Regions from separate parts of the Homo sapiens genome. Here regions 2, 3, 4, 5, 6 and 7 are each linked to region 1. Evidence: promoter capture Hi-C in 16 types of primary human blood cells and fetal thymus (Javierre and others, 2016). All regions are on one chromosome and are shown on one strand. The core of a region is centred on a gene start or on the middle of the fragment in contact, and the rest is flanking DNA. Distances in the headings are between cores, read along the strand shown. Region 1 holds the start of LINC03122 (long intergenic non-protein coding RNA 3122). Region 2 holds the start of ERCC8-AS1 (ERCC8 antisense RNA 1). Region 3 overlaps ERCC8 (ERCC excision repair 8, CSA ubiquitin ligase complex subunit). Region 4 overlaps NDUFAF2 (NADH:ubiquinone oxidoreductase complex assembly factor 2). Region 5 overlaps NDUFAF2 (NADH:ubiquinone oxidoreductase complex assembly factor 2). Region 6 overlaps NDUFAF2 (NADH:ubiquinone oxidoreductase complex assembly factor 2). Region 7 overlaps NDUFAF2 (NADH:ubiquinone oxidoreductase complex assembly factor 2).

Region 1 (3,454 bases), core at 678-3,177:
TCTTGTGGTTTTATTTGCTAAATCAGGCAGGCCTACTCTGTCCCAGTGTATAAGCATCACACCGCCCTTGGTTCTTATCCAACATCCAGACCTATACTGGGGCTTCTCAGAATGGGATTCCCATGAATTTGGGATGCCCTGAGAGGTAGCGTTAGTAGTGAAAAAGGGGACCCTGCAAGGTGGAGGCCTCAAAGCCAGTTATTTCTGCTGCCGCCCTACCCAAGGAGAGTGTAGATGGAAGTAAATATCTAAATGCCCTCATTAGGGTGGGGCTGTTCCAACACAGGAATTACGACACACGGCCAGACTCAGAGGCTGCCCTCTGTTCTGTGGCAAAAGGGTCCCAAAGTACAGCCCACTGCTTAGCCTGACTGCCCTTCCTAAGTACTTCTTAAAGACTGCGTGTCCCAACCGGGCTCAAGCCTGTAATCCCAGCACTTTGGGAGGCCGAGGAGGGCTGATCTCGAGGTCAGGAGATCAAGACCATCCTGGCTAACATGGTGAAACCCTGTCTCTACTACAAATACAAAAAAATTAGCCGGGCATGGTGGCGGGCGCCTGTAGTCCCAGCTACTCGGGAGGCTGAGGCAGGAGAATAGCGTGAACCCGGGAGGCGGAGCTTGCAGTGAGCAGAGATCGCGCCACTGCACTCCAGGCTGGGCGACAGAGCGAGACTCCGTCTCAAAAAAAAAAAAAAAAAAAAAAAGACTGTGTGTCCCACTTTATCTGAGGGGCCAATCTGCTCAAGACATTTTTGAGCTGCCAGTCCCGAACTGCGTGCTTAAGCCCCAAGAGCTAGCAGGTATCCGCAGAGCCCCTGCACAGGGCTGCTGGGAGTTTCCATTGGCCACGCCTTCTGACCTCAGTTCTGCACTCCCATGCTCATTAGCTCCCTGCATTCTTGGATGCTCTTGAATATTCCCCTGCTCACCCTTCTTCTCTTGCCTGGTACAACCTTGGTAGCCTGACCCCAGAACTGGGCTGCTTGCCCTGGGCACCAGTTGGCTTTGTTCCCAGGCATTACTGCTGGGATTCGCTCTGGACTCTGAAATATGCCTCCTCAGCCAGCCCGACTGCCCAGATCCCACCAGCCTGCTCTGTCCAGAGAGATGAGACATTCGGACTATTCAGTGTCCGTTCATGCCATCTGCTGGGATCATGATTTCTATACTCTGGTCACACATTACATGAATAATACTTCCCCCATTTCCTCAAAAAGATCCTCAGACAAGCTCAACCCCCATGTGCTAGTAGTTCAGGATTCTATGACCATCCTAAGTTTACACAACCACTTGGCCTTGGCTGGCCAAGACATGATGGTGTGGGAGCCTAGGAAGACCCTTCAGAGACGGCAGCAACCAGACTCCTCTTCTCACAGTCCCCCTCCAGCTCTGGTCTGTCCTCCTCACACAACCTCCCCCTCACAGTTTTGGGGTCTCATCTTTGGACCCTCTCTTGCCCCATTTTCCAAACACATCATCCCTGGCTGTATTAGGGGTCTCTGGGGCAGCCGCACTATGCTTTGATAGAGGGATGAGGTAAAGTTATTTTCCACTTTATTAACCTGAAAAAGCATAAACCGACCAAGTTTAGGGGCCTGAAGCATATTCTAAACAGACAGTGTCTCCTCCCTGACCCAGTTCTCTTACGGAATCATGGGAACCCATCTCCTCGACTTAGCAGCGGCAGACAGGCTGGTGTTTCTTGGCATTGTTTTCTAGGGCTGAAGCTGCAGTTTTCCTGATTTGGCCCTTGCATATTATTTAATTGTTTATCTTGACATACAGGTTTATCCCAGAAGGGGATGTTTAAAAAGTGGCATGGAGACCCTGGCTATAGACAGAAATGCAGCTTAACTTACCTTGGCTTCCTTCCTGCCAGACTCCTCCCAATTATTCTGCAGGCTTCTTTGCCCTGAGGGCAGTTTGCAGCTCCAGGGACTGGAATTGGCTTAAAAAAAAAATTCCTTCCTCTCTGTGCCCCATGTGAGGGAGCATTGTGTTCTCTCTAAATAATCAGCCTGGCTTTGTGTGACCTAACTGGACAGGGCCCTTTGAGAGATTTTTCAGTTGCAGAAAGAGCAGTCAGTGGCATCCTACAAAATCAGAAAGTTTTCAGACCAAGGAGAGAAGTCAGTGACAGCAAGATATTTTTTTCTTTAAGTTGTATTGTGACTAATTCCTCTCTCCCACTGGTGTTTAGAGTAATTAGGTAAAAGTGCAACAGAAGAATCCAAATTTATATTTTAGATCTAATAAATAATAACATTTAATCAGATGATCCCCATCCATTAACACCAAAATAACAAACAATTCAATGAATTATTTTAGGGTACTTACTATGTGCAAGGCATTGTCAAGGTAATTATTTCTTGCATTTACTGATTTCCTCCTGGGGACGCAGCACTAGCAAGAAGCTAATGGATTAGAAAGAAGTAGAAGGCCTCCAGCTGACAACCCACTCAGAAGAGAACATGGATCAGAATTGCCTGCCTCCATGGCAGGCACAGAGCTGGGAATTCATAAGCAGAAATTACTTCATTCAATCATCTCAATAGCCCTGTGGGGAAGACAGTAGTTCTCCATTTTACAGATGTGGAAACTGAGATCCAAAGACTATGTATATAGCAGGCAGAATGATGCCTCCCCTCCTTCAAAAATTCTGAAGGCTGTGAATAGGTTACCTCAAATGGCAAAAGGGGCTTTGAAGAGGTGATGAAAGGTTTTGCAGTGGGGATGTTACTATCGACTTTCTGAGTGGGCCCAGTGTAATTGCCATGGTCTTTAATAAGGGGGTAGATAGGAAGATAAGAGTGAGAATGACAGGGATGTGACAATGGAAACAGAAATTGGAGTGATGTCGGGTCATGAGTCAAGGAATGCATGCACCCTCTAGAAGCTGGAAAAGGCAAGAAAACAGATTCCTCCCCCTCCACCCCAAGCCTCCTGAAGACGCCCTGCCCTGATAACCCACTGTGAACTTCTGGCCTCCAAAACTGTAAGATATCTTGGTCCATTTTCTGCTGCTGTAACAGAATACCACAGGCTAGGTAACTTATAAATAACAGAAGTTTATTTGTCTTATGGATCTGGAGGCTGGGAAGTGCAAGATCAAGGGGCTGCATCTGGTGAGGGCCTTCTTGCTGTGTCATAACATGCAGAAGGCATTACCTGACAAGAGAGCATGCGAGAGAGAGAGAGGAAGGGAACCAGAACTTCATTCTTCTATGTGGAGCCCACTCCTTTGATAACTAACACACTCCTGTGATTAACAGCCTTGATCCATTCATGAGGGCAGAGCCCTCATGACCTAATCACCTCCTGTAAGACCATGTTTCAACATTGTTACAATGGCAACTAAATTTCAACCTAAGTTTTGGAGGGGATATTAAACTATAGCAGTTATACATTTGTGTTATTTTAAGCCACTGAGTTTGTAGTCATTTGTTGGAACA
Region 2 (3,454 bases), core at 1-2,500, 720 kb after region 1:
TTGAAACTCACATAAGTCAGTTAATGTAAATTTTGATTGCTGTTTTGTAGAGATCATCCTGATGTTCACAGATACAGTGTGGAGACTGTACAGTGGTATCCTCATGACACTGGCATGTTCACATCAAGCTCATTTGATAAAACTCTGAAAGTATGGGATACAAATACATTACAAGTAAGTACATTAAAACATTTGCAGATTGCTTTGTAGGATAAAGGAGAATTTAATCCTAAACCATTTTAGTATGATTATTTGCTGAGATGTCATATATGTTAGATGTGAAAGCAGTACAGTGGTTAAGAAGAGCTAGACTACTTGAGTTCATATCCTGGCTGTGCTGCTGACAGCTGTATGACATTGGGCAAATGTCCAAACCTCTGTGTGTCTTTCTCATCTGTAAATGGGAATAATGATTATAGTATGGTTGTGAGGATTAAATGAGCCAAAATATGTAAAGTACCTAGTACAGTACATAGCATATAGTAAATGCTCAAAAACTGTTAGCTAATATTATTATCCCTTTGTGAAAAATACTATGATCTAGTAATCTAAAGTAGAAAATTGGATTTATCTTTGATTGATCTAAAAACTTGAAGGAGAAAGCTGTTAATACTGTAGCTTAGTAAAGACAAGCAATGGATAATAGTTTGTATGACATTTGGTCAAATTTACATTCCGAGTGCTAATCTTTTCTCTGAGCTCTACTCTGATATGTCTCTACTTTTCTACAGTACCTCTATACTTAAATGTAGTGTCATCCCTTCAAACTTAACATGGTCCCAACTGAACATGATCACATCTCATTAAATTTAGTCATAAAATCTTAGCAATCCTTTCTTCAAACTCTCTCATACCTCTCTTTTCTATTTACCTTGCCTTTACTGCACATCTGGACTACTAAAATCACTGCCTTACCTTCTACATTTTCTACACTAAGTTCTACCCCAGAATTAATCTTATTATAAAGCAGTTTCATCATGTCACTACCCAAACCCTCTAGGGATTCCCATTGTCTAAACTCAGCCTGGCATTCCAAGTTCTCCATGACATCAACCCTTGTTCCTTCAATCCTATGTTCTACCAGTTTTCAACACAAATGCTTTGCTGCAACTAAACTGATCGTGTTTTGAATCTGTTGTATTCCCTACCTCAAGTCCCTTTCCCTTGCAACTCTTCCCTTCTCCTAAGGTCACATCTTTTTTTACAATTACATTGAGCCAAGACTGTAGATGCCAGAGTTCTAGTTCCATTCTGCCACTTATGAGATTTGTTGCTTTAGATAAGTCATTTAATTTGTTAGCAAAGGTCTCTTCAGCTATAAAATTAAAGTGTCAGACTAGATGGTGTCTAAGGTCCCTTTTAGTTCTATCATGCAGTTTAGTGATTTCAGCTTCTGGAGTAAATATTAACCATTATTTTACTTTATAGCACTATTTTCTGTATTCCTATTTCAATACATTCTCATACTACTTTATAATATCATTTTCATACTTGTTTGTCTTATTTGTTGTTCTAGATTGTTACTTCCCCAAAGAAAGTACTATGTCTTATACATTACTAAATTCAGTGCTATGTACAGTAACTGCTGAGTAAATGCTTTAGGGATGACTAACAATGTATGTAACTGGCCACATACTAAAAAGTAATAAAATCATGAAGTATATTATGATTCTAGTGAGCAAAACAAAACAGTGTTGTGTATATAAATGTAAATTTAATATACTTCTAATAATTCAAACTAAATAGATGTGTTTTTTTGACCTTGCTACATTAGAATAGTCCTATTATTTCAGATTTATTTTTATAATAAAGTATATTTATTTAAAATACATGTCATTGAAAATGAGAGTATATTTTAACAATTAAATGAATGTCATGACCTTTCACTTCTGACTATAATGGAATATCTTGTAGCCAAACCAGCACCTCCATTGAGAAAAGCTAGATAAAGCATAAACAGGCATCTAGTTGAGGGTTTTATAAAGCTGCCAAGAAATCTAGGAATTGAGAATCAGATCCTAGAGAGGGGAACACTTACAGAAATGCATTCAACTTTCCACACACTCTTTTTCTCTTTGGACATTTGTCATTAAAGTAAGGCAAGAGACTGAGAAGACAGGCATTGGATAGCTTCTAAGAGGCAGATAAATGAGTGGGACTTTAGTCAATTTCATAAAGCTAGAGAGACAGAAATTGGAATGTGGGCTGCCAAGACAGCCAGAAATTAAAGGGTCAAGATCACAGAAAGAAGAGAGATGCAGAGAAATCAGCCTAACATCTTGCACTGGTTTTTTCTTTGAGATATTTGCTGACCAAGCTATGCGAGACCATAGACTTAAGAAATGAAGCAGAAGACATTTGAAGAACAGCAATTTTCCCCAGTCACATGGTACTGGAGAGAAGAATTGCAGTGCAGTACTTGCTAAGTAGAAGGGGGCCTAGGAAAACACCCAGGCTCTTAGGGCACCTAGAGGGGAATACTCTAATAATGGGTACAAATAGGAGGTAGATGGAGCCTGTGGTAGGCAGCATCATGTCCCGCTCCCAGATGTCTATGTACTAATCTCTAGAACATACGAAGGGGAATTAAGGTTGCCAATCACCTGACCTCAAGACAGGGAGATAATACTGAATTATCCTAGTGGGCCCAATGTAATCATAAGAATCTTAAAAAATGGAAGTGGGAGGCAGAAGGAGACGGGGTAAATTTGACTGGGAGAATGGCCAGAGAAATGTAAAATTGCTAGCTTTGAAGATGGATTAAGGGGATCACAAGCCAAGAAATGTGGGTGGTCTCTGGAAGATGGAGAAAGTATTCTCTCCTAGAGCCTCCAAAAAGGAATGCAGCCTGTCAACACCTTGATTATAATCCATTGAGACCTATGTGAGAATTTTAACTTGTAGAACAGATTTATTACAGATAATAAATTTGTGTTATAAATTACTAAGTATGTGGTACTTACTAAGTACAGTAAGTACTTTCCTTACTGCATCAGTAGAAAATTATTACAGAACTCTACAATAGCAGACAAGCTTTATGTTTGAATTGATATGATCTTCCCTCTCCTACCTGCAAAAGAGAGATTGGATCTTCTCTAGAGGAGGATAACATAACGCAGAATCTCTCCCAATTTTTTCTATATAATTTCTAGCACTCAAAACAGAAACTTCCAAGCTTACCAACAAATGAGCTTAGGAGTAAAAACAGACAATAGAAGAAGACTGACATCTCCAGGCCTAGGTGCCTTTACGAGTAAGTTATTCTAAACACTTAAAAAAGAGATAATACCAATCTTATACAAATGCTTCAAGAGGAAAAAAAGGAACTTTTGTAAACTTTTTTTATGGGGCCAGCATATCCATGATTTCAAAATTTACAAGGACATTATATGGAAAATTACAAGCCAGTGTCTCTTACAAATATAAATAACAAAAATCCTAAATCAACTATTAA
Region 3 (3,454 bases), core at 607-3,106, 700 kb after region 1:
TATAAGAACTACCACAGGAACGCTCCAGGAAAGCGGAGAGGATCCACAGACCCTTTGAAGGAAGTGGATTGCCGCTGCAGGCACTGTGGGACAGCCAAGGAACTGTGAGTTGGCTGGCTTTCTCAGCTGGGTGGCTTAAAGCCTGGGGCAAGTCCTCAGCCCTGCTGGAAATAAACTCAGAGCTGTTGTAGGGGCGCAGTGGGAGTGAAACCAGCCCTTTAGGCTGTAGGTTGCATGGGAGCTGGGTGAAGCCTTTGGCTGCCGGCCTTCCCCAACTTCCTTGGTGACCTGTGTGACACAGCAGAGGCAGCCATAATCCCCCTGGGAACATAACTCCATTGGCCTGGGAACCATGCCCCCATCTACCACAGCAGCAGCGGCAAGCCTCACCCAAGGAGATCTGAGCTCAGACATGCCTAACCCTGCTCCCACCTGATGGTTTTTCTCTACCTGCCCTGGTAGCTGAAGACAAAAGACATAATCTCCTGGGAGCTCTATCGGCCTGCCCACCACCTAACCCTAGGGCAAGCATGTATCCTTTCTATACTACTGCAGCTGATGCCCTCTTGAAAGTGCCACCTCCTGGCTGGAGGCCAACCAACACAAAACCAGTACATTTAACAAAAATACAACCAAGGGCCCTCATAGAGGCCACTTCACTCCCCTGCTGCCTCTACGGTTGCCGGTGCTGGTATCCACGGCTGAGAGACCTGAAGACAGATCACATCACAGGACTCTTTGCAGAAACTGCCCTGTACCAACCAGACCCCAGTAGCTCTGCTGGTTGGCTAGATCCAAAAGAGAAATAACAATCACTGCAGTTTGGCTCTCAGGAAGCCCCAACCTTAGGGGAAGGAGGAGAGCACCAAATCAAGGGAGCACCTCGTGGGACAAAAGAATCTGCAGAGCAGCCCTTGAGTCCCAGATCTTCCCTCTGACATAGTCTACCCAAATGAGAAGTAATCAGAAAAACAATTCTGGTAATATGATAAAACAAGGTTGTTTAACACCCCCAAAGGATCACACACCTTAGGGGAAAAGGATTCACATAAATACAAAAAATTGACATAGAATACCTGACATCAAGATGGAAATTAAAAAATTCTTTGAACTGAATGATAATAGTGACACAACCTGTCAAAACCTCTGGGATACAGCAAAAGTGGTGCTAAGATGAAAGTTCATATCATTAAATGCATACCTCAGGAAGTCTGAAACAGCACAGACAGACAATCTAAGGGCATACCTCAAGGAACTGGAGAAACAGCAAACCAAACCCAAACCCAACAGAAGAAAAAAAATAACCAAGATCAGAGCAGAAATAAATGAAATTGAAAGGACAACAACAACAAAACACAAAAGATAAATGCAACAAAAAGCTGGTTCTTTCAAAAGATAAATAAAATTGATAGACCATTAGCTAGATTAACCAACAAAAGAAGAGAGAAGATCTGGTAAATTCAATTAGAAACAAAATGGGAGATATTACAACCCTTACTACAGAAATACAAAAGATCATTCAAGGCTACTATCAACATCTTTATGCACATAAACTAGAAAACTTAGAGGAGATGAATAAATTCCTGGAAATACGCAACCCTCCTAGATTAAACCAGGAAAAAATAGAAACCCTGGACAGACCAGCAACAAGCAATGAGATTGAAATGGTAATAAAAAAGTTACCAAAAAAAGTTTAGGTACAGACTCACAGCTGAATTATATCAGACATTCAAAGAAGAATTTGTATCAATCCTATTGACACTGTTCCAAAAGATAAAGAGGGATTCCTCCCTAAATCCTCCTGTGAAGCCAATATCATGCTAATACCAAAACCAGGAAAGAACAAAGACAACCGCAGACCAACATCCCTGATGAACATAGATGCAAAAACCCCCAACAAAATACTTGCTAACCAAATCCAGCAGCATATAAAAAATATAATCCACCATGATCAAGTGGGTTTCATACCAGGAATGCAGGGATGGTTTAACATATGCAAGTCCATAAAGGTGATACACCACACAAACAGAATTAAAAACAAAAATCAGATGATTATCTCAATAGATGCAGAAAAAGCATCTGACAAAATCCAGCATCCCATTATGATTAAAACCCTCAGCAAAATCAGCATAGAAGTGACATACCTTAAGGTAATAAAAGCCATCTATAGCAAACCCACAGCCAACATTATACTGAAAGGGGAAAAGTTGGGAAGCATTCCCCCTGAGAACTGAAACAAGACAAGGATGCCCACTTTCACCACTTCTATTCAACATAGTGCTGGAAGTCCCAGCCAGAGCAATCAGACAAGAGAAAGAAATCAAGGACACCCAAATCAGTAAAGAGGAAGTAAAACTGTTGCTGTTTACTGATAACATGATTGTATACCTAGAAAACCCTAAAGACTCATCCAAAAAGCTCCTAGAACTGGTAAATGAATTCAGCGAAGTTTCAGGATACAAAATTAACATACACAAGTCAGTAGCTCTGCTATACACCAACAGTGACCAAGCTGAGGATCAAATCAAAAACTCAACCCCTTTTATAATAGCTTCAAAAAAGAAAAATAAAATACTTAGGAATATACCTAGCCAGGGAGGTAAAAGACCTCTACAAGACAAAACACTGCTGAAAGAAATCATGGATGACACAAACAAATGGAAACACAGCTAAATTCTACATTTGGATGGGTAGAATCAATATTGCGAAAATAACCATACTGCCAAAAACAATCTACAAATTCAATGCAACTTCCATCAAATACCACCATCATTCTTCACAGAACTAGGAAAAAAGAGCCTGCATAGCCAAAACAAGACTAAGCAAAAAGAACAAATCTGGAGGCATCACCTTACCCTTCTTCAAACTATACTATAAGGCCATAGTCACCAAAACAGCATGCTAGTGGTAATAAAAATAGGCATATAGACCAACGGAACAGAGTGGAGAACCCACAAGTAGAGCCAAATACTTACAGCTAGCTGATCTTCAGCAAAGCAAACAAAAACCTAAAGTGGGGAAAGGACACCCTATTCAACAAATAGTCCTGGGACAATTGGCAAGCCACATGGAGGAAAATGAAAATGGATCTTCATCTCTCACCTTCTACAAAAATCAACTCAAGATGGATCAGAGACTTAAATCTAAGACCTGAAGCCATAAAAATTCTAGAAGATAACATTGATAAAACCCTTCTAGACATTGGCCTAGGCAAAGACTTCATGACCAAGAACCGAAAAGCAAACACGACAAAAACAAAGATAAATAGATAGGTCTTAATTAAACTGCACAGCAAAAGAAATAATCAGCAGAGTAAACAGACAACCCACAGAGTGGAAGAAAATCTTCACAACCTATACATCCAACAGAGGACTAATATCCAGAATATTCAAGGAACTCAAATCAAGAAAAAGATAAACAATCCCAACAAAAAGTGGGCTGACATGGATAGACA
Region 4 (3,454 bases), core at 618-3,117, 690 kb after region 1:
TTGCATGGAAAGGAGAAATTCCTTTGGTTGTTGTCAATAGGGCACATACAAAGTATGTGTGACTATCTCAAATAATTTTATACCGACTAAATTTGAAAAAAAGCTTTACTATTAAAGCCAAAACACTGTTATTCAATGTAATCATGCATTTTAAAATATATATTCATAAATACAGTAAACCATAGCATTAGGTTACATTAAAAACATTTACCAAAGCCTACATTATGCATATACTCTTCCTCAATTCATAGGCTACTCCTTTTAAGCTCGTATAGAATTTACTGCTTGCTTTTCTCTAGACATTTACTCACTATGACTGCAGTAGAAACTACACCCAACAAATACATCAACCAAATGAGGACAGAATAAAAATCTTTTCAGACATTCAAAGACTCAAAAACTTTATCCGCCTTGAACCTCTTCTCAGGAGGCTACTGAAGCATATATGCTACAAAACTGTGGTGAAAGGCCCAGAATCCAGGGAATAAGATATCCAGTAGAGGGAAGAGGAAAGGGAATTATGGTCTCTGTGTAATGAATTCTTTCAGGTACAGTATGTCTGAAAAAACCTTCATTTGCCTTTGTTTTAACAAGGTATTTTTGTTGTGTACAAAATTATAGGTTGGCAGACTTTCTCTTTTGGTACTTTAAAGATATTGTTCCACTGTCTTCCAGCTTATATTGTTTGTTTTAAAAAAAACCCTGAACTCATTTTCGTCTTTCTTCCTCTGTAAGTAATGTATCTTTTTCTCTAGCTCTATAAAGATTTTCTCTTTATCAATGGCTTTGAGCAATTTGATAATAATATGCCTTGGTGTGGTTTTCTACACTTTTTGTTTTTGGAATTTGTTGATGATTTGGGGTCTGTGGGTTTATAGTTTTCATCAAATTTGGAATATTTTTGGCCATTATTTCTTCAAATATTTTTGACCTGCAAAATGACCTTTACCCCTCATGGTATCCAATTACATATATTAGGCCACTTGGGGGTATCCCACAGCTTGCTAATTGCTCTTTTTTTTCTGGTCTTTTTTCTCTCTGTGTTTTATTTTGGGTAATTTGTATTATTATCTTTCAATTATAAATGTGTAAGGACCTAACAATAGGTATTGAAAATACATGAAGCAAAAACTGATAGAACTGGAAAGAGTAAAAGACAAATGTAAACTTGTATTCAGAGACTGTAACATACTTTTTTCAATAATTGATAGAATAAGTACAAAAAAAATCAGTGTGAATATACAAAGCTTGAACAACTCTATCAACCAGCTTGGGCTAACTGACATTTACAGAACATTCAACCCCAAATAGCAAAATAGATAATACATTTTTCTCAAGCACAAACAGAAGATTTACCAAATTGCACCATACTCTAGGCCATAAAACAATTTACAATACATTTAAAATAACTGAAATCATATAAAATATGTTCTCTGAATATAATAGAATTAAACTAGAAGTCAATGAAAATCTCCATCTAGAAAATCTCCAAATATTTGTAAAGAACATACTTCTAAATAAATACATAGGTCATATAGGAAAAAATAAATAAGAAAATATATTCGTTACATGAAAATTTTAAGATAAAAATTTGTGAAATGTGGCCAAAACAGTGCCTACAAGAAATTTTAACATTAAAAATGTATATTAAAAAATAAACAGATCAAATTATGATCTCAGTGGCCACCTTAAGAAACTAGAAGAACATATAAAACCAATTGAAAGCAGAAGAAAACGATGACGATATAAGAGAAAGCGATAAGTTCTGAAACCAATGGAAAAAACTTACAGAGAAAAATCAGTGAAACTCAAAGCTAATTCTCTAAAATGATCAATAAAATTAACAAACCACTCATCAGATAGGCCAAGAAAACAATAGCCACAAATTATCAATTCAGGAAAGAGAGGATATCACTACAAATTGTACAAACATTAAAAAGATAATGAAGAGGTATTACAACTTTATGACTGTAAATTCAACATACTAGATAAAAAGGGCAAACTACTCAAAAGATAAAAACTACCAAAACTCACCTAAGACAAAATAGATAGCCTGAGTAGTCTTATACCTGCCAAAGATATTAAATTTGTAGGTTAAAAATTTATTATCTTTGAATTTTTAATTCCAGCCTTCCAACAAGGAAAACTCCAGGACCAGATGGCTTCACAGGCAATTTATATCCAACATGTAAGAAATAAGTAATACAAATTCTTCACAAACGCTTCCAGAAAATTCAAAAGAAGGAAACAAAATTTAACTCACTTTATAAGGCCAGCATTAACCTAAAAACAAACCTAGAAAACACATTAAAAGGAAGAAATTAAGATCCTGAAGAACAGAAAACAAAATTCTTCAATAAAATGAAAGCACATCAATCCAATAATATATAAAAAGGATAATGCATCATGACCAAGTGGAGTTTACCTGACAAATGCAATATTCAAGACATTCAACAATCAATCAATGCCAAATGAGTTAAAAGCTTATGTCCACTCAAAAAACTGCACAGGAATATTTATAGCAGCTTTATTCATAATCGCCAAAACTTGGAAGCAACCAAGATGTCCTTCAATATGCAAACGAATAAACAGTGGTTCTAACCATACAACAGAATATTATTTAGCAATAAAAAGAAAGTAGATGGCCAGGCATCTGGTTTACTCCTGTAATCCCAGCACTTTGGGACGCTGAGGCAGGCAGATCATCTGAGGTAAGGAGTTCAAAACCATCCTGGCCAATATGGCGAAACCCTGTCTCTTACTAAAATTACAAAAATTAGCTGGGCATGGTGGTGGGCACCTGTAATCCCAGCTACTCGAGAGGCTGAGGCAGGAGAATCACTTGAACCTGAGAGGCAGAGGTTGCACCGAGCCAATATCGCACTACTGCACTCCAGCCTGGGCGACAGAGTGAGACTCTGTCTCAAAAATAAATAAATAAATAAAAAGAAAGGAGCTATTATGCCACAAAAAAACATGGAGGAAACTTAAGTGCATATTACTAAGTGAAAGAAGCCAGTCTGAAAAGATCACATACTATATGACAGCAACTACATGACATTCTGGAAAAGGCAAAACTACAGAGACAGTAAAAAGATCAGTGGTTGCTAGGGGTTTGGTAGCAGGAAGGGAGGAAGTGAGGACACATTAATGCAAGATATTAACAATGGGAGAAACTGCATTGGGGGAGCAGGAATATCTGAGTAGTTTCCATTCAATTTTTCTGTAAACCTAAAATTGCTCTAAAAAATAAAGTCTATTAATTTTTAAAAGTCAATCAGTATAAATTCACCACATGATCATTCCAACAGAACCAAAAAAAAAAAAAAAACCCAGCAAGCAAGCATGTGACAAAATTGACAAAATTCAACATCGATTCATAAGAGAAAGCGCTCAGCAAACGAGGTACAGACAGGGAACTTTGTTAATTTAATAAAAGGTATCTAAAAAATTA
Region 5 (3,454 bases), core at 700-3,199, 670 kb after region 1:
TTGAATCTTTGTGATTGAATATAACATCTTTGTGTTATATTTTTTTCCCTTTGTGAAAAGGAAAAAATTATGTTGGCAAATGTCTCAACAACAACATAGAAAGCAAGGCAACAGTAAGCTTCCTAAACAAACAAACAAGCAAGCAAACAAAAAACTCAAGAAAAAAAGTATGAGACAAGGATGTTACATCCAAGCATGAAGATTCAAGACTACAGACATGAATGAACTCAGGGAACTCTATACTCAGGAACACTTCTTGAGGAATCTACCAAAAAGTAAGCTGCATCCAACCAAGTGTTAACTGGGGCAACTTTAGCAAAAAGACTAATGGTGAGCATTCAATACCTTTAATTAGAGATCTAAGTCTAAAACAAAGGCAAGGATCAGAGTGCAAGACAACCTAATTATATGTTATATACTATGTATTAAATATATTTTAAAAGAAGTCAAAAATGCAACTAAACATTAGGAGACAAAGTTAAAAGGAGAAAGAAAAGGGGTATAAGCTCTTTGGTTATGGTAAAAAAAATGGGTGAGAATTAAAGGATATCATTAGAAACTAACAAATGAGATAGTAATAGAATAAGAAACCAAGAAATACGGGCATTAAAAAAGGTAGAAATACAGAGGTAAATACAAAACTACAAACCTTCCTATATACCATGAGAAATTTTAAAACATAGCAAAAAAAAAAAAGAAAACCAAAAAAAAAAAAAACAGAATACACATATCAGTAAATGAGAATGTGCTTAGTTTTTCTACTTTAAAAAAAGAGATTAAAAACTTGGCTGACAAATCAAGACTCTAATATAACCTGTACACAAGAAACACACCTAAAACAAGTGATTTAAAAATGCTGTATTAGTCTGTTCTCACACTGCTATGAAGGAATACCCAAGACTGGGTAATTTATAAAGAAAAGAGGTTGAATTGACTCACAGTTCCGCATACCTGGGAGGCCTCAGAAAAGATATAATCATGGCAGAAGGCACCTCTTCACAGGGTGGCAAGAGAGAGAATGAGTGGTGAGTGAAGAGGGGGAAGTCCCTTACAAAACTGTCAGATCTCATGAGAACTCACTCATCACCACAAGAGCAGGATTGGGGAAACCACCCCCGTGATTCAACTATCTCCACTTGATCCCGCCCTTGACAAGTGGGGATTTAGAGATTACAACTAAAGGTGAGATTTGAGTGGGGACACAGAGCCAAACCATATCAAATGCTAAGAATTAAAAAAAAAAAAAAATGGGCCAGGCACAGTGGCTCATGCCTGTAATCTCAGCACTTTGGGAGGCCGAGGCAGGCAGATCACGAGGTCAGGAGTTTGAAACCAGCCTGACCAACATGGTGAAACCCCATCTCTACTAAAAATACAAAAATTAGCCAGGCTCGGTGGCGTATGCCTGTAATCCTAGCTACTCAGGAGGCTGAGGCAGGAGAATTGCTTGAACTCGGGAGGTGGCAGTTGCAGTGAGCTTAGATCACACCACTGCACTCCAGCCTGGGTGACAGAGCACGACTCCGTCTCAGAAAAAAAAAAAAAAAAAAAGGGAGGGGGGCAAAAAGAATGGGCAAAGTTGTATCAGCCAAATATTAAGAAATAGAGGTTGTGCCAAATGTCCATCAATGATAGACTGGATTAAGAAAATGTGGCACATACACACCATGGAATACTATGCAGCCATAAAAAAGGATGAGTTCATGTCCTTTGTAGGGACATGGATGAAGCTGGAAACCATCATTGTCAGCAAACTAACACAAGGACAGAAAACCAAACACCGCATGTTCTCACTCATAGGTGGGAACTGAACAATGAGAACACTTGGACACAGGGTGGGGAACACCACACACCGGGGCCTGTCATGGGGTTGGGGGAGGGGGGAGGGATAGCATTAGGGGATATGCCGGGCGCGGTGGCTCACGCCTGTAATCCCAGCACTTTGGGAGGCCGAGGCGGGCGGATCACGAGGTCAGGAGATCGAGACCATCCTGGCTAACACGGTGAAACCCTGTTTCTACTAAAAATACAAAAAAATTAGCCGGGCACGGTGGCGGGTGCCTGCAGTCCCAGCTACTCGAGAGGCTGAGGCAGGAGAATGGCGTGAACCCGGGAGGCGGAGCTTGCAGTGAGCTGAGATCAGCCACTGCACTCCAGCCTGGGCGAAAGAGCCAGACTCTGTCTCAAAAAAGAAAAAAAAAAAAGAAAGAAAGAAAAAAGATATATCTAATGTAAATGACAAGTTAATGGGTGCAGCACACCAACATGGCACATGTATACATATGTAACAAACCTGCACATTGTGCACATGTACCCTAGAACTTAAAGTACAATTTAAAAAAAAAACGAAAAAAGAAATAGAGGTTGTGATTCAAATATTAAAATAGAATTAGAGAGCATTAAGCATGACCCAAAATTTTCAGCCACAGTTCACAATAAAGACAAATTATAAATAACTATTCAATAAATAACAGAACCACCACTCAATGAAGCAAACACAAATGATATTGGTAGAACACAGATAAAAATACAGTAAAAAAAGAAAACTTTAAAATAATCCTCCTTAATATGAGACAAATTATGTAGACAAAAATATATATATAAGGATATAAACAACCAAATAACATAATCAATGATGAAGAGTTTAACAGCCTACATATTGAACTTTACATCTCAATAATGGAGAGAATGGAGAAAAACTAAAAGCCTTTCCTCTAAGATCTGGAATACAACAAGGATGCCCACTGTCACCACTGTTATTTAACACGTACTGGAAGTCCTAGCTAAAGCAATCAGGCAAGAGAAAGAAAGGGCATCCAAATTGAAAAGGAAGACGTCAAATTATTCTTGTTTGCAGAGGATATGATCTTATATTTGGAATAACCTAAATACTCCACTAAAAAACTATTGAAATTGATAAATAAATTAAGTTGTGAGATACAGAATCAACATACAAAAATCAGTAGCAAACAATCTTCAAGAGAAATCAAGAAATCCCATTAATAAGTACAACTAAAATACCTAAAAATTACCTTAACCAAAAAAGTGAAAGATGTCTACAATGAAAACTATAAAACACTGATGAAACAAATTGAAGAGGACACACATGCAAAAAAATAGAATGATATTCCATGTTCATAGATGGGAAGAATCAATTCTGTTAAACTGTCCATACTATCCAAAGCAATCTACAGATTTAATGCAATCCCTATCAAAATACCAATGACATTCTTCACAGAAATCAGAAAAACAATCCTAAAATGTATATAGAACCATAAAATACCCTGAATAGCCAAAGCTATTCTAAGCAAGATGAACAAAACTGGAGGAATCATGTTACTTGATTTCAAATTATACTACAGAGATATAATAACCAAAATGGCATGGTACTGGCATAACAACAGATACATAGGTCAGTGGAACAGAATAGAGAACCCATAAATAAATCCATACA
Region 6 (3,454 bases), core at 660-3,159, 650 kb after region 1:
GTTGTTGCAAATGACAGGATCTCATTCTTTTTTATGGCTTAATAGTACTCCATTTTATATATGTACCACATTTTCTTTTTTAAAAAAATTTCTCTTTTAACTTTCACTTTAGGTTCAGGAATGCATATACACGTTTGGAATACAGGTAAACTCAGCTCATGGGGGTTTGGTGTACAGATTATTTTGTCACCCAGATATTAAGCATAGTACCCGATAGGTATTTTTTCTGATCCTGTTCCTCCTCCCACCCTCTGACCTCAAGTTTGTCCCAGTGTCTGTTGTTCCCTTTGTTGTGTCCACGTGCGTTGTTACTTAGCTCCCACTCATAAGAGAGAACACATGCAGTATTTGGTTTTCTGTTCCTGTGCTAGTTTGCTAAGAATAATGGTCTTCAGTTCCATCCATGTTGCTGAAAAGGACATGATCTTGTTTTTTATGACTGCATAATATTTCATGGTGTATATACACTCCATTTTCTTTACCCAGTCTGCCATTCATGGGTGCTTGACTCCATGTCTTTGCTATTGTGAATAGTGCTGCAATGAACATACATGTGCATATGTTTTATGGTAGAACGATTTATATTCCTTGGTGTATATACCCAATAATGTGATGGCTGGGTTTAAAAGTAGTTCTAAGTTCTTTGAGGAATTGCCACACTGATTTCCACAATGGGTGAACTAATTTACACTCCTACCAGCAGTGTATAGGTGTTCCCTCTTCTCTATAACCCCTCCAGCATCTGTAATTTTTTGATTTTTAAAATAATAGCCATTCTGACTAATATAAGATATCACGCTGTGGTTCTGATTTGCATTTCTCTAATTATTACTGACGTACAGCATTTTTTCATATGCTTGTTGGCTGCATGTATGTCTTCTTTTGAAAAACATCTGTTCATGTGTTTGGGTTTTGCTTATAAAATTTGTTTAATTTTAATTTTCCTTACAGATTCTGGATAGTAGACCTTTGTCAGAAGCACAGTTTGCAAATATTTTCTCATATTTTGTAGATTGTCTGTTTACTCTGTTGATAGTTTCTCTTGCTGTGCAGAAGCTCTTTAGTTTAATTAGATCCCATTTCTCAATTTTTGCTTTGGTTGAAATTGCTTTTGGTGTCTTTGTCATAAAATATTTGCCAGTTCCTATGTCCAGAATGGTATTGCCTAGGTCATCTTCCAGGGTATTATAGTTTTAGATTTTGCATTTACAGCGTTATATTCTTGAGTTGGCTTTTATATATGATGTAAGAAAGGGGTCCAGTTTCAGTCTTCCACATATACCTAGCCAGTTATCCCAGCATCATTTGTAGAATAGGGAGTCCTTTCCCCATTGCTTGTTTTTGCCAGCTGTGTCAAAGATCAGATGGTTGTAGGTGTGTGGCATTATTTCTGGGCTCTCTATTCTGTTCCATTGGTTTATGTGCCTGTTTTTGTACCAGTACCATACTGTTTTGGTTACTACAGCCCTGTGGGTGTAGTTTGAAGTCGGGTAACATTATGCCTCCAGGTTTGTTCTTTAAGCTTAGGATTGCTTTGGCAACTTGAGCTCTTTTTTGGTTCCATATGAATTTTAAAAGTTTTTTTCTAGTTCTGTGAATAATGCTATTGGTAGTTTGATTAGAATCACACTGAATCGCAAATTGTGTTGAGGAGTATGGCCATTTTAAAAAATATTGGGTTCTTCCTATCAGTGAACACGAAATGTTTTCTCATTTCTTTGTATCATCTCTAATTTCTTTGAGCAGTGTTTGTAATTCTCATTGTAGAGATCTTTTACCTCCCTAGTTAGCTGTACTCCTAGGTATTTTATTCTTTTTCTGGCAATTGTGAATGGGATTGCATTCCTGATACGGCTCTTCACTTGCATGTTGGTGTAAAGAAATGCTACTAATTTTTGTACATTGATTTTGTATCCTGAAACTTTGCTAAAGTTGTTTATCAGCTCAAGTTGCTTAAGCTGCTTTTTGGCCAGGAGTATGGGGTTTTCTAAATATAGAACCATGTTTTCTGCAAACGGATAGTCTGACTTCCTCTTTGCCTATTTGGGTGCCTTTTATTTCTTTTTCTTGCCTGATTGCCCTGGCTGGAACTTCCAGTATTATGTTTAATAGGAGTGGTAGGAGAGGGCATTCTGGTCTTTTGCCAGTTTTCAAGAAGAATGCTTCCAGCTTTGCCCATTCAGTATGATGTTGGCTGAGGGTTTGTCATAGTTGGCTCTTATTATTTGCATTCCTTCAATGCCTAATTTATTGAGTTTTTAACATGAAAGGATGTTCAATTTTTATCAAAAGCTTTTTCTGCATCTATTGAGATAATCACATGGTTTTTGTCTTTAGTTCTATTATGTAATGAATCACATTTATTGATTTGTGTATTTTGAGCCAACTTTGCATCCCAGGGATAGAGCCTACTTGATCATGGTGGATTACCATTTTGATATGCTGCTGGATTGGATTTGCTAGTATTTTGCTGAGGATTTTTGCATTTATGTTCATGAAAGATATTGGCCTGAACTCTTATTGCTATTGTTGTTGTTGTATCTCTGCCAATTTTGGTATCAGAATAACACTGGTTTCATAGAATGAGTTGGGAAGAAATCCCTTCTCAATTTTTTGGAATATCTTCAGTAGGAATGGTACCAGCTCTTCTTTATACATCTGGTGGAATTCAGCCAAGAATCTTTCTCATCCTGGGCTTTTATGGGGGATTGGTAGGCTATTTATTACTGATTCAGTTTTAGAGCTCATTATCGGTCTGTTCAGGGATTCAATTTCTTCCTGGCTCAGTCTTGGGAGAATGTATGTGTCCAGGAATTTAGCCATTTCTTCTGGAGTTTCTAGTTTGTATATATAGAGGTACTCATAGTAGTCTCTGATGGTTATCTGTATTTCTGTGGGGTCAGCGGTAACATTCTCTTTCTCAATTCTAATTTTGTTTATTTGGATCTTCTCTCTTTTCTTCTTTGTGTACTTAACAGTCTATATTATTAATTCTTTCAAAAAAACTATCTCCTGGATTCATTGGTCCTTGTATGGTTTTCCATGTTTCTTTTTTTTTTTTTTTTTTGAGACAAAAGAGTCTCACACTATTATTGCCCGGGCTAGAGTGCAATGGCATAATCTCAGCTCACTGCAACCTCCACCTCCTGGAATCAGGCGATTCTCCTGCCTCAGCCTCCTGAATAGCTGGGATTGCAGGCACCCGCCACCACGCCTGGCTTATTTTTTGTATTTTTTTAGTACAGATGGGGTTTCACTATGTTGGCCAGGCTGGTCTTAAACTCCTGACCCTGTGATCTGCCCACCTCAGCCTCCCAAAGCGCTGGGATTATAGGCATGAGCCACCATGCCTGGCCAGTTTTTCATGTTTCAATCTCCTTCAGTTCAGCTCTGACTTTGGTTATTTTTTTTGTCTTCTGCTAGCTTTGAGGTTGGTTTGCCCTTACCTGTCTAG
Region 7 (3,454 bases), core at 362-2,861, 630 kb after region 1:
CTGGTAGGTCCAAGGAATCTTGAAATTTAAAAAGTAACTTTAAATTTAATTGATTTAGTTTAATTCTGATGTCACAGGTCAAGAGTATTCTAAGTATCATTGCTATAAATCTGGGCAGTCCAATGAATTAATCTCTTGAGATGCTCTTGAGGGAGGGGGTTGATTCCTTGGTGAGATTAGGAGATGTTACATACCATATCCTGCCTACTATACCCCTATACCTCTACTTTCCCTCTTGGAGAATTCCAGTGCACAATAGCAAATTAAATGCTCCAATAGGTTCTGCATTTTGTTAGATAACCTATTTAACTCTGTTCAACAAATTGTTCCCTCAACTTATTTGGCTTCAGAATACATTTAACTTATAACACCTAAAATATTCTGTGATCTGAAAACGCTGTTAAAGAGTTTTTACAAAATGTAGAAAATATCAGAATGTTGTCTTTCGATTTTCAATTTTTTAAAAAAATGTAGGAAATCACTGTAAACTATGAAGATAACAATAATAGATACGGATTAGTAGAAAAGACCACAGTAAAAGATTTACATGCCCCCTAGAAATGATAATGTACAAAGACAAAAACGGCAGGAATTAAGAACCTCAAATAGAAGACACACTTGGGAAAATAAATAATAAAAGAAGAAAAACTGATAAGACAGACAAGGAAGGCGGTTAGTTCATAAAAAGCCTTGGATGCTACAAAAGCAAACCTCATCCTTCAAGGCCCTAGTCAATATTTCTTCTACAGAGCTTAAAATGATCTGCCTCTATGGAAGAGATAATAGAAAGAAACAAACATAAGATTTGGAATGAGAAGGATCTATGTTTACATTCGGGTTCTGTCACTTATTAACTAAATTAACCAGCCAATATGTGCCACAAATGGTTGATGAAAGTAAAGATAAAGGTGGTAATAATAATACTGATACACCAAGCCCTTTACATACTCATTTACTACTCACAATGCATCAAGATAGGTGAAATCATCCGCATTTTATAGGGAATGAAATTGAAGCTCAGTGCATTTAAGCAATTTTCCTAAGACCTTGAGATTGTTTTGAACATTGAGAGAAATAAGGTGTGGATGAACTATTCTAAAGGCTGTAAAGCTCCATACAAATTTTGGATGTTATTAACTAAGAATGTGAATAAATGCCTTTGCTATCTGTATACACTTGCTTGTTAATCTTTCTTACAAAGACTATTCTTTGTAGTAACATCAATTATCAAGGTTTGAGAGATGTGAAAATCCATTCTTTTTTTTTATTATACTTTAAGTTTTAGGGTACATGTGCACAATGTGCAGGTTAGTTACATATGTATACATGTGCCATGCTGGTGCGCTGCACCCATTAACTCGTCAATTAGCATTAGGTATATCTCCTAAAGCTATCCCTCCCCCCTCCCCCCACCCCACAACAGTCCCCAGAGTGTGATGTTCCCCTTCCTCTGTCCATGTGTTCTCATTGTTCAATTCCCACCTGTGAGTGAGAAGATGCGGTGTTTGGTTTTTTGTTCTTGCGATAGTTTACTGAGAATGATGATTTCCAATTTCATGCATGTCCCTACAAAGGACATGAAATCATCATTTTTTATGGCTGCATAGTATTCCATGGTGTATATGTGCCACATTTTCTTAATCCAGTCTATCATTGTTGGACCTTTGGCTTCGTTCCAACTCTTTGCTATTGTGAATAGTGCCGCAATAAACATACGTGTGCATGTGTCTTTATAGCAGCATGACTTATAGTCCTTTGGGTATATACCCAGTAATGGGATGACTGGGTCAAATGGTATTTCTAGTTCTAGATCCTTGAGGAATTGCCACACTGACTTCCACAATGGTTGAACTAGTTTACAGTCCCACCAACAGTGTAAAAGTGTTCCTATTTCTCCACATCCTCTCCAGCACCTGTTGTTTCCTGACTTTTTAATGACTGCCATTCTAACTGGTGTGAGATGGTATCTCGTTGTGGTTTTGATTTGCATTTCTCTGATAGCCAGTGATGGCGATCATTTTTTCATATGTTTTTTGGCTGCATAAAGGTCTTCTTTTGAGAAGTGTCTGTTCATATCCTTTGCCCACTTTTTAATGGGGTTGTTTGTTTTCACAGAGCCCTGAGAAATAACGCCACATATCTACAACTATCTGATCTTTGAGAAACCTGACAAAAACAAGAGATGGGGAAAGGATTCCCTATTTAATAAATGGTGCTGGGAAAACTGGCTAGCCATATGTAGAAAGCTGAAACTGGATCCCTTCCTTACACCTTATACAAAAATTAATTCAAGATGGATTAAAGACTTAAACGTTAGACCTAAAACCATAAAAACCCTAGAAGAAAACCTAGGCATTACCATTCAGGACATAGGCATGGGCAAGGACTTCATGTCTAAAACACCAAAAGCAATGGCAACAAAAGCCAAAATTGACAAATGGGATCTAATTAAACTAAAGAGCTTCTGCACAGCAAAAGAAACTACCATCAGAATGAACAGGCAATCTACAAAATGGGAGAAAATTTTTGCAACCTACCCATCTGATAAAGGGCTAATATCCGGAATCTACAATGAACTCAAACAAATTTACAAGAAAAAAAATCCGTTCTTTAAGAGATAAATATTGACAGCTTCTTTCTACTATATTGTTCCAAAACCAGAGACTTAGTGCCACTAGTATTTTTGGAAGCTCTGGTTATTCAAACGCCTTGACCAAAATGATCATTAATTTTAAGTAAATAAAAGCTCAAGTTTTCATTACAATATTAACTAACTAGATGGTAATACCTGTACTGCAATACATTCTCTAGACACATCCCTGGTAACAATACGCTATGTTTTAAACACAGTTTTCTAATTCACAATTGCTTAAAAAGAATAAAATAGCTAGGAATCCAACTTACAAGGGATGTGAAGGACCTCTTCAAGGAGAACTACAAATCAGTGCTCAATGAAATAAAAGAGGATACAAACAAATGGAAGAACATTCCATGCTCATGGGTAGGAAGAATCAATATCGTGAAAATGGCCACACTGCCCAAGGTAATTTATAGATTCAATGCCATCCCCATCAAGCTACCAATGACTTTCTTTACAGAATTGGAAAAAACTACTTTAAAGTTCATATGGAACCAAAAAAGAGATCGCATTGCCAAGTCAATCCTAAGCCAAAAGAACAAAGCTGGAGGCATCACGCTACCTGACTTCAAACTATACTACAAGGCTACAGTAACCAAAACAGAATGGTACTGGTACCAAAACAGACATATAGACCAATGGAACAGAATAGAGCCCTCGGAAATAATACCACACATCTACAACCATCTGATCTTTGACAAACCTGATAAAAACAAGAAATGGGGAAAGGATTCCCTATTTAATAAATGGTGCTGGGAAAACTGGCTAGCCATATGTAGAAAGCTGAAACTGGATTCCTTCCTTACACCTTATACA

The links. The method cuts DNA at HindIII sites, captures the fragments that hold promoters and counts their contacts. A CHiCAGO score of 5 or more calls a contact.
Region 2: a contact is called between the fragment with the promoter of ERCC8-AS1 here and the fragment with the promoter of LINC03122 in region 1, in 6 of 17 cell types (naive CD8 T cells, naive CD4 T cells, activated CD4 T cells and 3 more). The highest score is 9.0, in naive CD8 T cells.
Region 3: a contact is called between a fragment that was not itself captured here and the fragment with the promoter of LINC03122 in region 1, in 1 of 17 cell types (neutrophils). The highest score is 5.3, in neutrophils.
Region 4: a fragment that was not itself captured here is called in contact with the fragment with the promoter of LINC03122 in region 1 in 4 of 17 cell types (total CD8 T cells, total B cells, naive CD4 T cells and 1 more); the score reaches 7.1 in total CD8 T cells.
Region 5: a fragment that was not itself captured here is called in contact with the fragment with the promoter of LINC03122 in region 1 in 4 of 17 cell types (naive CD4 T cells, naive B cells, total CD4 T cells and 1 more); the score reaches 7.8 in naive CD4 T cells.
Region 6: a contact is called between a fragment that was not itself captured here and the fragment with the promoter of LINC03122 in region 1, in 9 of 17 cell types (naive CD8 T cells, naive CD4 T cells, total B cells and 6 more). The highest score is 6.0, in naive CD8 T cells.
Region 7: a contact is called between a fragment that was not itself captured here and the fragment with the promoter of LINC03122 in region 1, in 5 of 17 cell types (neutrophils, total CD4 T cells, non-activated CD4 T cells and 2 more). The highest score is 9.8, in neutrophils.

What each region holds. Positions count from the first base shown.
Region 1 is chr5:61,636,254-61,639,707 of GRCh38, reverse strand. It overlaps LINC03122 (long intergenic non-protein coding RNA 3122), which reads right to left and starts at 1,927. Exons shown (of 2, transcript NR_126525.1): 1 at 1,862-1,927. The HindIII fragment of the contact is 4,932 bases long and covers 1-3,454 here.
Region 2 is chr5:60,914,985-60,918,438 of GRCh38, reverse strand. It overlaps ERCC8-AS1 (ERCC8 antisense RNA 1), which reads right to left and starts at 1,250. Exons shown (of 3, transcript NR_183288.1): 1 at 872-1,250; 2 at 12-144. ERCC8 (ERCC excision repair 8, CSA ubiquitin ligase complex subunit) reads left to right here. Exons shown (of 12, transcript NM_000082.4): 4 at 51-174. The HindIII fragment of the contact is 9,095 bases long and covers 1-3,035 here.
Region 3 is chr5:60,934,393-60,937,846 of GRCh38, reverse strand. The region is part of intron 1 of ERCC8 (ERCC excision repair 8, CSA ubiquitin ligase complex subunit); the gene reads left to right. Among named protein-coding and RNA genes, the nearest start is that of ERCC8, 9.0 kb to the left of the region's middle. The HindIII fragment of the contact is 7,783 bases long and covers 1-3,454 here.
Region 4 is chr5:60,950,519-60,953,972 of GRCh38, reverse strand. The region is part of intron 1 of NDUFAF2 (NADH:ubiquinone oxidoreductase complex assembly factor 2); the gene reads right to left. Among named protein-coding and RNA genes, the nearest start is that of NDUFAF2, 7.0 kb to the right of the region's middle. The HindIII fragment of the contact is 1,236 bases long and covers 1,250-2,485 here.
Region 5 is chr5:60,970,037-60,973,490 of GRCh38, reverse strand. All of the region lies in intron 1 of NDUFAF2 (NADH:ubiquinone oxidoreductase complex assembly factor 2), which reads right to left. Among named protein-coding and RNA genes, the nearest start is that of NDUFAF2, 27 kb to the right of the region's middle. The HindIII fragment of the contact is 3,657 bases long and covers 121-3,454 here.
Region 6 is chr5:60,986,551-60,990,004 of GRCh38, reverse strand. All of the region lies in intron 1 of NDUFAF2 (NADH:ubiquinone oxidoreductase complex assembly factor 2), which reads right to left. Among named protein-coding and RNA genes, the nearest start is that of NDUFAF2, 43 kb to the right of the region's middle. The HindIII fragment of the contact is 770 bases long and covers 1,525-2,294 here.
Region 7 is chr5:61,006,115-61,009,568 of GRCh38, reverse strand. The region is part of intron 1 of NDUFAF2 (NADH:ubiquinone oxidoreductase complex assembly factor 2); the gene reads right to left. Among named protein-coding and RNA genes, the nearest start is that of NDUFAF2, 63 kb to the right of the region's middle. The HindIII fragment of the contact is 7,028 bases long and covers 1-3,454 here.